3 separate regions of the Homo sapiens genome follow, and all the other regions are linked to region 1. Evidence: promoter capture Hi-C in 16 types of primary human blood cells and fetal thymus (Javierre and others, 2016). All regions are on one chromosome and are shown on one strand. Each heading gives the region's core, a stretch centred on a gene start or on the middle of the fragment in contact. The rest is flanking DNA. Distances are from core to core; before and after follow the strand shown. Region 1 holds the start of SLC15A4 (solute carrier family 15 member 4). Region 2 has its middle 43 kb from the start of LINC02414. Region 3 holds the start of RAN (RAN, member RAS oncogene family).

Region 1 (3,694 bases), core at 658-3,157:
TACTGGCAAGCCAACTTCCCAGCTACTGGCTCCACCCTCATCTTAGCTGGAGGGAATGATGAAGGAAGAGGAGGTGGTCTTACACTAATTGAATCATTGCAGCAGCTGTGGATCACGATTCCTTTCTTTCTTGCCTTTTTTTTTTTTTTTTTTTGAGACAGGGTCTCACTATGTCACCCAGGCTGGAGTGCAGTGATGCCCTCACTGCTGAATGCAGCCTCTACCTCCCGGGCTCAAGCAATCCTCTTGCCTCAGCCTCCCAAAGTGCTGAGATTATAGGCGTGAGCCATCATCCCAGGCCGGGGTCTCAATTTCTTTTTTTTTTGTCTTTTTTTTTTTTTTTGAGACGAAGTCTCACTCTGTCACCAGGCCGGAATGCAGTGGCACAATCTCGGCTCACTGCAACCTCTGCCTCCCTGGTTCAAGCGATTCTCCTGCCTCAGCCTCCTGAGTAGCTGGGACTACAGGCGCCTGCCACCACGCCCAGCTAATTTTTGTATTTTTAGTAGAGACGGGGTTTCACCATGTTGGCCAGGATGGTATCGATCTCTTGACCTCGTGATCCGTCCGCCTCGGCCTCCCAAAGTGCTGGGATTGTAGACGTGAGCCACCATCCCAGGCCGGGGTCTCAATTTCTGAAGCCATGCTGAGGGCCATTTTTGGGCGGCACTCTTTCACTCCACTATGTGCCAGGCGCTGTCCCAGAGGCAGGGGGCACAGTGAGGAACAAAACACAAGAGAATCCTGCCATCAGGAAGCTTACACCTGTTAACACATGCAGGTTGGGGAGATAAACGAATAAATTAAAAAATGTAACAGGTAATAAGGAGAAAAGAGTAACATGATGGAATGGGATACTCGGGCCTTGGACAGGCTAGTGAAAAAAATGTTTCTCTGAAGTCAACACTTCGGTGGAAGGTTGAAGGATGAGAAGCCAGCCATGCAACCATAGATGGTGTAGGGGCAGTCTCTGGGAAAGCCTGAAACAGGCTGGAGCTTGCCTTGTTCTAAGCCAGTGAGTCTCAATGGGGGCGTATTTGCCCCCAGGAGTCCTTCGGCAAAGTCTAGAAGACATTTTCGGTTGTTAACCTGAGGTGCTAGGGGGTGGAACTGGCCCCTAGTGGATAGCAGAGGCCAAAGCTGCTGCTGAACATCGTGCAACGCACAGGACAGTCCCGTCGCTCAAAGTGCCAACGATGCACGGGTTGAGAAACCGGGTCCTCTCCAGGACTGAAGCCCAGGGCAGGGAGCACGGGGGCAGCCTGAGCAAACCCGCCTGGAGAGCAGCCGCCGTCTCAGTGTGAGTTTTGGCTGCCTACTGGGCCCCACCGAAGCCCGAAGAGGGCCAGGCTCCGGCTTCTTTGTTTAAACTCCCTTAGTCCGACTGCCTGCAGTGGCTCATGCACGTAATTCCAACACTATGGGAGGCTGAGACGTGAGGAACGCTTGATGCCAGGAGTTCGAGACCAACCTGAGCAACAAAGCGAGACCCCATTTCAAAAAACTGTTTAAAAATTAGCCACAGGCAGCGGCGAGCGCCTGCGGTCCCAGCTACCCGGGAGGCTGAGGTGGGAGGGCCGCTTGATCCTGGGAAGCTGAGGCTGCAGTGAGGCGTAACCGCATGACTGCGCTCCAGCCTGGGCGAGAGAGGGAAACCCTGTCTCAAAAAGGCAAACAAAGGCTCTCGGCCGCCAAGCTGCGGAATCCCAAGCTCCCCAAGACACGCAGTGATCCAGAATACCGGCCACCTCCTCGCCTAGTGCCCGGGGCGGGGCCGGAAGTTCCGGCGAGTGGGGCGTTGAGCAGCGGCGAGCCCGCCCAATAGGGACATCTCAGGCCCGGCAGTCTCGCGAGAAGGGCGGCGGCCCTGGGTTCTGGGACAGGTGACCCGGCGGCGGGGCGAGGCAGCTGGCGGCGTCGCATGGAGGGCTCTGGGGGCGGTGCGGGCGAGCGGGCGCCGCTGCTGGGCGCGCGGCGGGCGGCGGCGGCCGCGGCGGCGGCTGGGGCGTTCGCGGGCCGGCGCGCGGCGTGCGGGGCCGTGCTGCTGACGGAGCTGCTGGAGCGCGCCGCTTTCTACGGCATCACGTCCAACCTGGTGCTATTCCTGAACGGGGCGCCGTTCTGCTGGGAGGGCGCGCAGGCCAGCGAGGCGCTGCTGCTCTTCATGGGCCTCACCTACCTGGGCTCGCCGTTCGGAGGCTGGCTGGCCGACGCGCGGCTGGGCCGGGCGCGCGCCATCCTGCTGAGCCTGGCGCTCTACCTGCTGGGCATGCTGGCCTTCCCGCTGCTGGCCGCGCCCGCCACGCGAGCCGCGCTCTGCGGTTCCGCGCGCCTGCTCAACTGCACGGCGCCTGGTCCCGACGCCGCCGCCCGCTGCTGCTCACCGGCCACCTTCGCGGGGCTGGTGCTGGTGGGCCTGGGCGTGGCCACCGTCAAGGCCAACATCACGCCCTTCGGCGCCGACCAGGTGAGCCGCGCCCCCGCGCGCTGTCCCTGTCCCTGTCCAGCCCCTGCCCAGCCCCAGCCTCTTCCCCTGCCCCAGTCCCTGCCTCTGACCGCGGAGGGAGCCCCTTGCCCCGGGGGGCTTCTGTCTAGTGCCGAGGAATCCCGCCAGCAGGTGGGCCAAGACTGGAGGTACCGGTGTGATGGGTGCTGGAAGGGGTTTGCCTGGGGCGGGGTGAGGTCTACACACACAGTGATGGCCACAGTGGCTTTAAAGAAAAGAGAGGCCGGGCGCGGTGGCTCACGCCTGTAATTCCAGCACTTTGGGAGGCCGAGGCGGGAGGATCTCTTGAGCCCAGGACTTTGAGACCAGGTTGGGCAACACAGTGAGACCTCATCTCTACCAAAATTTAAAAATTTGCCCTCCGTGGAGGCGCACACCTGTAGTCCTAGCAGAGAAAGGAGGATTCCTTGAGCCTACGAGTTTCGGAGGCTGCAGTGAGCTAGGGTCACACCAGTGCACTCTAGCTTGGGTAACAGAGTGAGACCCCACCTCAAAAAAATAAATAAATAAAATTTAAAAAATACGCTGAGCGCAGTGGCTCACGCCTGTAATCCCAACACTTTGGGAGGCCGAGGTGGGTGGATCACCTAAGGTCAGGAGTTCGAGACCAGCCTGACCAGCCTGGCTAAAAATACAAAAATTAGCCGAGCGTGGTGGCGGGCACCTGTTCTCTCAGCTAGTCGGGAGGCTGAGGCAGGAGAATCGCTTGCACCCGGGAGGCAGAGGTGCGATGAGCCGAGATCGCGCCACTCCACTCCTCCAGCCTGAGCGACAGAGCGAGACTCTGTCTCCAAATAAAAATAAATAAATAAATAAAAAATAAATGAACGGGACCCTTCTATGTTCAGGCCCTGTAAGTTCAGACCAGAAGGCTAGGAAAGAGCAGTTGTTTGAGGAGCTTTCCAGACATGGGGATTCGCAGGTGCAGGGCCCTGGGCCAGGAAGCTGAGGGAAGGGGAAGCCCCCGTTGTTGCCTTAGCTTCCTTTACAAAGAAGTGGGAAAACACTCATATTGCGTCTTCGTGGCTTTAAAGGAGTTACGGGCTAGGTTGGGTCGGAAAGCTCAGATGAAAATGAGTTTGAATCAAGTTAGCATCAAGCTGCTCCCCTGCAACTGTAACTGCCAAGAAGTGAGGGAGGAACCACTGCAGCTCTTCAGGAGGGGCAAGGACGTGGCCACCAAGTATT
Region 2 (3,694 bases), core at 755-3,254, 2.8 Mb before region 1:
GCAGGAGAACCTGGGAGGTGGAGGTTGCAGTGAGCCAAGATCGCACCACTGCACTCCAGCCTGGGCAACAGAGTGAGACTCTGTCTCAAAAAACAAAAAACAAACAAAACCCAATAAAAATAACAATACAACAATCAAAAGTAAATAAAAAAGCAGTGATAACAACTATTGGCACGGTATTTGTGTTATCTTGAGTATTATAAGGAATGCAGAGACAATTTAATGTATACAGGAGGATGTGCCTAGGTTATATGCAAATAACACACCATTTTATATAAGGGACTTGAGCATCTTCAGATTTTGGTATCCATGGGAGCCTCAGAACCAACCTCCCGAGGATACTGAGAGACGACTATTGTCTGAAAAAGTTGGTGAATTTGTGCAGTTGGTAAATGGGGCACAAGAACAGTTTCACAACAGTATTCTAGGGTTGCACAACGATGTCAGACGTTTCTCTGTCTGGGCATGAAACCGCCTCTGCAAAAATTAGAACTGAGGAAATTATGGCGGTGAAACAGATCTGACCTAACCGACTCCATCTTGCTTCTCACCTCCAAGCTGTCCTTGTTCATTCCTGGGCGTAGGCTGAGCTTACTTTGGAAGGAACTTAGTTTAACTTTGAAACAAAGATGATAACAGCTCTTTCCCAAAACAAAACCCCTCCTTGCCTAGGGACTTGACTTACGAATTAGAAGATTAGAAATTACGGTACAGAGTCACTGTCGTAAAACCTGAGATCAGGGCTTCAGATATTTTGCAGACCTTGCATTCTGATGCACCAGCTGACTCCACCCAGAAAAATAAACTGGCTCATTTGGTCTTGTGGCCCCTACCCAGGAACTGACTCAGTGCAAGATGACAGCTTTGACTTTCTATGATTTCATCTCTGACCCTACCAGTCAGCAGTCCCCACTTGCCAACCCTCTACCCACCAAATTATCCTTAAAAACCCCAATCTATGAATTTTTGGGGAGGTCGATTTGAGTAATAACTCCATCTCCCACATGGCGTGGCCGGCCTCATGGCAATTAAACTCTTTCTTGACTGCAGTGCCGTGGTCTTTATTTGTGCAGTGGGCAGGAACAACCCGTTGGACAATCACAGGCACTGTTAGTGGACCCAGATTTTCAGTTATGCGTCTGAATTAGACCTTGGCCCAGATTGGAAAGAAATGTGAGTACAGTTCCAAAATTACACTCTCTAGCAGAAAAGACCTCCCACACCTGTTGAGATGCTTCTGTCCTGAAACCTGGGGGAATGTCCTTAAGGAAAAGGTTGGAAAATATTAGATATGGGAAAGCTCCAGGAGAATAATGAAAAACAAAACAAAACCAAAACCCTGGGGATTTTGATGATTTTTTGTTGCTGCTGTTTTGCGCTTGTTTTTGAACCTTAAAAAAGTCTTGCTGGGAAAAGAAGGGGATGAAAAGAAGTTGCTTGGGGTTGAGGTTTTTAAACATTATTGTCGATGGTGCAGGGGCTTTCTTGTTTCTGAGGTTTGCTCTTCTGAAAATAACAAAGTAGAACTCAGCTTGGGCTCTGTGGGGTCAGGAGGGAATCACCCTCTCCAGGGTTAAAGGTGAGGGAAGTGTCAGAGGCATTTGAACCAGAATGACTCCATCTTGAACAGGGGCTGAGTAAGATCAGGCTGAGACCTACTGGGCTGCATTCCCAGCAGGTTAGGCATTCTAAGTCACAGGATGAGACAGAAGGTCGGCACAAGACACAGGTCACAAACCCAGCTGATGAAACCGATTGCAGTAAAGATGCCGGCCAAATCCCTCCAAAACCAAGATGGCAATGAGTGACCTCTGGGGTCATCCTTACTGCTCATCAGCGCCATGACGGTTTACAAATGCCATAAATAATCATGAGTCTTCTGGGAAAGGGGTGGGCAGTTTCCAGAACCGAGGGCTTCTCCTGGCTTCTAGACCATAATCCACCCTTGTTTAGCATATAGTCAGGAAAAAACTATCATTCGTGGAGCAGCCCCACTACCACTCTGCCTGTGGAGGAGCCATTCTTTTATTCCTTCACTTTATTAATAAACTTCCTTTCACCTGATGGATTCACCTTGAATTCTTTCTTGCATGAGATCCAATAACCCTCTTGGGGTCTGGATCAGGACCCCTTTCCAGTAACAGAAGGGCTGTGAGTGACAGGTCCCGGTTCCCGGTGGGGTGGCTGTGAGTGACAGGTCCCGGTTCCCGGTGGGTCAGCAAATGGTTCTCAGTGCCCACCGACAGCAATGTTTTCTCTTGAGCCTTCTAGACATTTTGATATGCAGAGAAAACCCCTCTCTCACTTTTATTTTGGATGAACTAGGATTAAACACTACAATTTTTTAAAAATCAAAGAAAATTCTGAAGGTGGGGTTTATTCCTTCTTCTCTCAGACTTTTAAATTTTTTTGTTCTTTGTGTTAAGACTCTCCCAAGTGCAGGGAGCAGAGGTCCTCAAAATTCTGATCCCAGAGGCAGCTCTGGATTTCCGCGAGGCTCTGTCGGAGCTGAGTTGATGTTTAGATCTAAGCTGCTTCCTCCACCAGAAGCAATTAATCTGCAGTTCGGGCTGACGGCGATGCACAGCCCTGTTTGCGGTTTCCGTTGCTTGCCATCCACCGACACCTACTCTGCAGCTCGTGTTTAAAATTTAATTTTTCTTCCCTGGCAACAGGATATTTGGCTGAGACAGAATGTCATAGTGAATGGTGTAGTAGGAATTCTTAAACGCAGCTGAGGTTCTCTGAATCTCACTGGGATTTGTTTTTCTTTCCTTCTGAAAAGTTGCACAGTGAGCTGTGTTGGGCCCCCGCAGAGCTGGCCAGTGCTGAGTGGAGAGGCACGGTGGGACGGCGGGAGGGCACAGGGCTTTGTGACGGGCTCAGCAGTGTAAGAGCTCCAGGCAGGCGGGGGTGTGGGTTGGAGACCCCGGGCTTTAGTCCTGTCTGCAGGCTTCCCTGGCCGTCAGGAGGGTGGGCTCGGGGAACTGGAGCATGGGAGCAGGGTCTTTCCTGCAGCAGGAAGAGGCTGTAACCACTTGCTTGTTTGCCTGACTGAAAGTGAGACCCTGCGTTTAATGAGCCTGAGCTCCCAGATCTTCCCTGGAGTGCTGTGGAGGAAAGAATCCAGGCTAGGAAGCATGGCCCCAAAATTTCTGCTTCCTGGTATACATGCCCTGTGAAATCCCCTTCTGTTGAGTGTGGGAGGACTTATGAATAGGATGAAATTTCACTCTTGTGATTAGGTTATGGTTTTTTTGGCAAAGAAGAAATTTTTCAGATGTAATTATAGTTGCTAATCAGTTAATTTTGAGTTGATCAAAATAGAGATTATCCTGTGTGTTCTTGGTTTAATCAGATGAGCTCCTTGGAAGTGGTCCAACTCACTCCTGGAACTGAGCCTCCAGGCTGTGGGCAAATTCAGGCCCTTGAAGAGGCCACAAGTAGGTGTCTCAGCTAACAGGCCCAATGATGGCTGTTATAAAAGGAAAATAAAGGTCTAGACCTTCCCTGAGTCGGAGATTCACAGCCACAGTCTCTCCCCATTGCTGGGTATGAAGAAGGAAGCTGCTGTGAGCTCTACAGCTGCAAGGAAGTGAATTCTGCCAACATCCTGGGAGGCTTGTATATGGGTCTTACAGCTGAGCCTTCAGATGAGAACAAGGCCAGACAGCACCTTGGTTTCAGCCTTGTG
Region 3 (3,694 bases), core at 358-2,857, 2.0 Mb before region 1:
ATGAGTATTTTCTTGATTCCTCTTTTTGGTACAATGAACATTTTCCTTGCAATTTTTAAATCAAACTATTTGAGAAAAATACTCTGCACAACTTAGTACAAACAATTTAACAAGAAATCAGCTAGTCTTGTATAACACTTGTTAAGATCTCCTATCTCCTCTGGTCTAGTATCTGGTGTTTATTGTTTTCTAATACAGTAAAAACATTCATTGATCACCACACCAAAATACATACATGAACCTAAGTTTCCAAATACTGAAACTGCTGTTAACAGCCTATTATTGTTTTAAATATGACTTATAAGTCCCAGTGTAAGTCATAGTTTTTTCTAAAGCATGCCTAGCATGACACAGCATGCAAATGACACAACTTTAATAAAATTTTCTCTGCCACCAAAATGGTGGTCAACTCCCCGAAGTCCACTTGTCTTTTTTTAACCCAAAAATGACACTATTTGTTGGAACAGACCTGATTTTCTATAACCTTGAAGACTGAAGTACACAAAACCTCTCAAAAACCGTTCAGCAAGTTACAAATGCCTACCTTGGATATAATAGCCATCTCTCAGTCCACCGAATTTCTCCTGGCCGGCTGTGTCCCATACATTGAACTTAATAGGTCCTCTGTTGGTGTGGAACACTAGGGGATGAACCTCAACACCCAAGGTGGCTGAAACGGAAACGATGCGATTGAGTGGATGAACTTACCCATTTCTCACATATTTCCACAAGCAAGGTTTTCCAGCACATACCTACATACTTCTTCTCAAATTCACCAGTCAAATGACGTTTCACGAAGGTCGTTTTTCCAGTACCACCATCACCAACCAATACAAGCTGTTGAAAAACACATTTTGGAAGTAAACCCTAAACACTTCACCTCTCAAGATCCCAGAGTCACGGAACTTTAACCACCACAGGCTCACTTAAAACAAAGAATGTGGATGCGGGGCCCCATTACAGCCATCGTGGCCCCAGGAGGAGGGACCCGCGAGTCGCACGCGGTCGGGCTCGGCCGCCTCCCGCCCCGCAGGGTTACCTACTTTGAACTGGACCTGGGGCTCTCCCTGCGCAGCCATCGCGGCGTTCCTGCGGAGGCAGAGGACGGAGGCGAGCGCTCGCGCGGCCCCGCAGCCCATGGCGGCCCCGCTCCCGCGCCCCCAGCGCCCCACGTGCCCGCCCCACAAAGGCCTCCCGCCCGCGGCGCCATGGCGGCCAGGCCTGGGAGCGGGAAGGCGGCGGGCGGGGCCGGCATCCGGGGCGGCGGGGCCCGGGGAACGGCGGCCGGAGGTGTAGGGATGGGAACGGGACTGGGACCGGGACGGGGATGAGAGCGGAGGATGAAACGGGGGTTCGCGGGGGCTAGCGCCGACCCCACGCCCGTCTCCTGCCCCGGCCCGGCCGGGCCCGCACCACCCACCTACTCAGCCGCCCGCTGCCCCTGGGTCCGCCACCCGCCCCGGCCCTGGCCCCGGCTCCGACCCCTATCCCGCCGCCGCCACCCCTGTCCCCGCCCGGCCGTGCCGGGCCCGCCGGGTCGCGATACCTTCCAGAAGCGTCTCCGCGCCCGTCCGACTGAGGCTGGAAAGATGGCGGAAGCGCAATTCAAACGCCGGAGACGCAGCCGACGCCGGCGCGAGAGCAGGGGCGGGGCCGGCGCGGGGCGGGGTTGCAAGGGGCGGGGCAACGGCGCGGCGCCCGCCCACGTGGCCCGCGCGTGCGCGCACGCACGCAACGCGGTTCGGTCGGCCGCTCGGGCGGTCGCTGCGCTTAGGGTGGGGCGGGAGGCGCGGTGGACCGCGTGGGAGGGCGAGCCGGGAGCGCGTACGCAAGCCGGCCGGTGGGGACCGCGTGCGCCGACGCCCCGGGCGGGCTCCCGGGCGCGCATGCGCTGAAAGCGAGGCGGCGCGCCCCTGAGCGGGAGACGTTGGGCGCGGCCCGACGGTCGCGGCTCTCCTGCCTCCCGGGTGGGAGGCGGTACTCGCTCGGGCAGACGTGGTCAGGCACGCGGCTTCCAGGCGCTGGCCAGCCTGTCCTTGTCTGTGCCCCGTGGGGTGGGGGTTCTTGAGGTCCTGGGGCTTAGGGTGGCTCGCGTGCGCGCAGGACGGGTGGGTGACAGAACGAATGAATGAATGAATGGGGTCTAGGCCCGTCCTCCAGAGGCAGCCCGCTGTTCTGTCTCTCCAGATCGTAGCCTTCACGCCCCCAGGACCAGGGCCAGTTGGAGAGCGAGGAACCAGAGAGGGATGCACCCACCCAGAAAAACGGCTACTTATTTTTTTTAAGAGACGGAGTCTCGCTACGTTGCCCAGGCTGGTCTCGAACTCTCAGGCTCGGGCGATCCTCCCGCCTCAGCCTCCCGAGTAGCTGGGACTACAGGCGCGCACCACATCAGGGGTAATTTTTTAAAAATTTTTTTGAGAGACAGAATCTAACTATGTCTCCCAGGCTGGCCTCAGGGGATCCACCCGCCTCGGCCTCCCAAAGCGTCCGGCTTCTCAAAGCGTTTCATAGGTTGGCAGCTTTGGCCGCTGCATGCTACAGACAAAATGATGAAATACTGTTTGCAGTCTGGACGCGTCTACCAGCCCTAGTTACCAACGGGGACGGAATGAGTAAGTGCTCAGCTTCCCAGCCCCCTGTTGGCCTGAAGCTGTAAGAGCCCAAACAAGCTTGAGCTAGAGGGACCCGACTTCCTGGGCGCCCCTGCCGACATGCAGACAGATAAAGGCCCAAATCAGCGCAGTCAAGCGCCTCAGAAGAGTCCACCATGGGGAGAGAGCCGCAGTGACCGAAGAGTCCTCCCTGCAGTCCTGAGCACACTTGCAGGCGAGTCCGCTAGGAACCCCAGTGACGCAAATTAGGCACAAAGCAGGCGACAACCGGCCTGCTGGGAACGCAAGTCCGAGCTCCCCCAGAACCCTCAGGGGAACCCCAAGCACCTCTCAGACGCTGCTGGCGGGAGAGCAGAATCTAACAGTAAAACGGGAATGCCCATTGCTTGTGACCCCGGATTTCCATTTCTAGGGAGAGGCCCCAGAGTTAAACTCATGCCTCACGCATGTGCACAACATTTAATACTGTATAACATTTAAAAGGAATGACGGTCATCTGTTTCAACAGGGTTAGATAGATGTCAAAAGGATAGTGTTGAGAAAAGAAGAAAGAGGTGATAACAGCTTTATAAAGTCTAGGCCACCTGTAATCCCAGCACTTTGGGAGTCCGAGGTAGGAGGATCCCTTAAACCCAGGAGTTACAGGCTGCAATGGGCAATGATCTCACCATTGCACTCCAGCCTGGGAGACAGAGCAAGACCCTGTTTTCAAAAATTAATACATAAAACCTAACACTATATGTAACTTTATCTAGAGGGATTATATATATAGTATAATGTCATTTATGTATATTTTTTACAAATACACATAAAACAAAAGCATATTGGCTATTGGATATATGTATTTTGTTGTTTTTTTTAATTGACTGCAAGGATCTATATACCATATCCTGATGGTTATTGCTTCAAGAAAGGGTAGAAAGGAGTGTGATGGAACTGAGAAGAGGAGTCAAAGAAGACTTTAACTTTACCTGCAATGTTCTATTTCCTTTTTTTTTTTTTTTTGAGACAGCCTCACTCTCGCTCAGGCTGGAGTGCAGTGGTGCGATCTCGGCTCATTGCAACTTCCGCCTCCCAGG

What was found. The method cuts DNA at HindIII sites, captures the fragments that hold promoters and counts their contacts. A CHiCAGO score of 5 or more calls a contact.
Region 2: a fragment that was not itself captured here is called in contact with the fragment with the promoter of SLC15A4 in region 1 in 1 of 17 cell types (monocytes); the score reaches 5.0 in monocytes.
Region 3: the fragment with the promoter of RAN here is called in contact with the fragment with the promoter of SLC15A4 in region 1 in 1 of 17 cell types (erythroblasts); the score reaches 5.4 in erythroblasts.

What each region holds. Positions count from the first base shown.
Region 1 is chr12:128,822,171-128,825,864 of GRCh38, reverse strand. SLC15A4 (solute carrier family 15 member 4) reads left to right here and starts at 1,907. Exons shown (of 8, transcript NM_145648.4): 1 at 1,907-2,467. The coding sequence starts at 1,922. LOC124903083 (a long non-coding RNA gene) reads right to left here and starts at 1,921. Exons shown (of 2, transcript XR_007063602.1): 1 at 1-1,921. RefSeq lists enhancers at 1,997-2,156, 3,637-3,694. The HindIII fragment of the contact is 5,029 bases long and covers 761-3,694 here.
Region 2 is chr12:131,603,533-131,607,226 of GRCh38, reverse strand. No RefSeq gene overlaps it. Among named protein-coding and RNA genes, the nearest start is that of LINC02414, 43 kb to the left of the region's middle. RefSeq lists an enhancer at 2,866-3,406. The HindIII fragment of the contact is 9,612 bases long and covers 1-3,694 here.
Region 3 is chr12:130,869,979-130,873,672 of GRCh38, reverse strand. It overlaps RAN (RAN, member RAS oncogene family), which reads right to left and starts at 1,607. Exons shown (of 7, transcript NM_006325.5): 1 at 1,547-1,607; 2 at 1,044-1,089; 3 at 753-837; 4 at 545-670. The coding sequence starts at 1,079. RefSeq lists silencers at 1,093-1,302, 1,353-1,492, 1,563-2,022 and enhancers at 1,044-1,805, 2,303-2,382, 1,806-2,567. The HindIII fragment of the contact is 6,850 bases long and covers 1-2,674 here.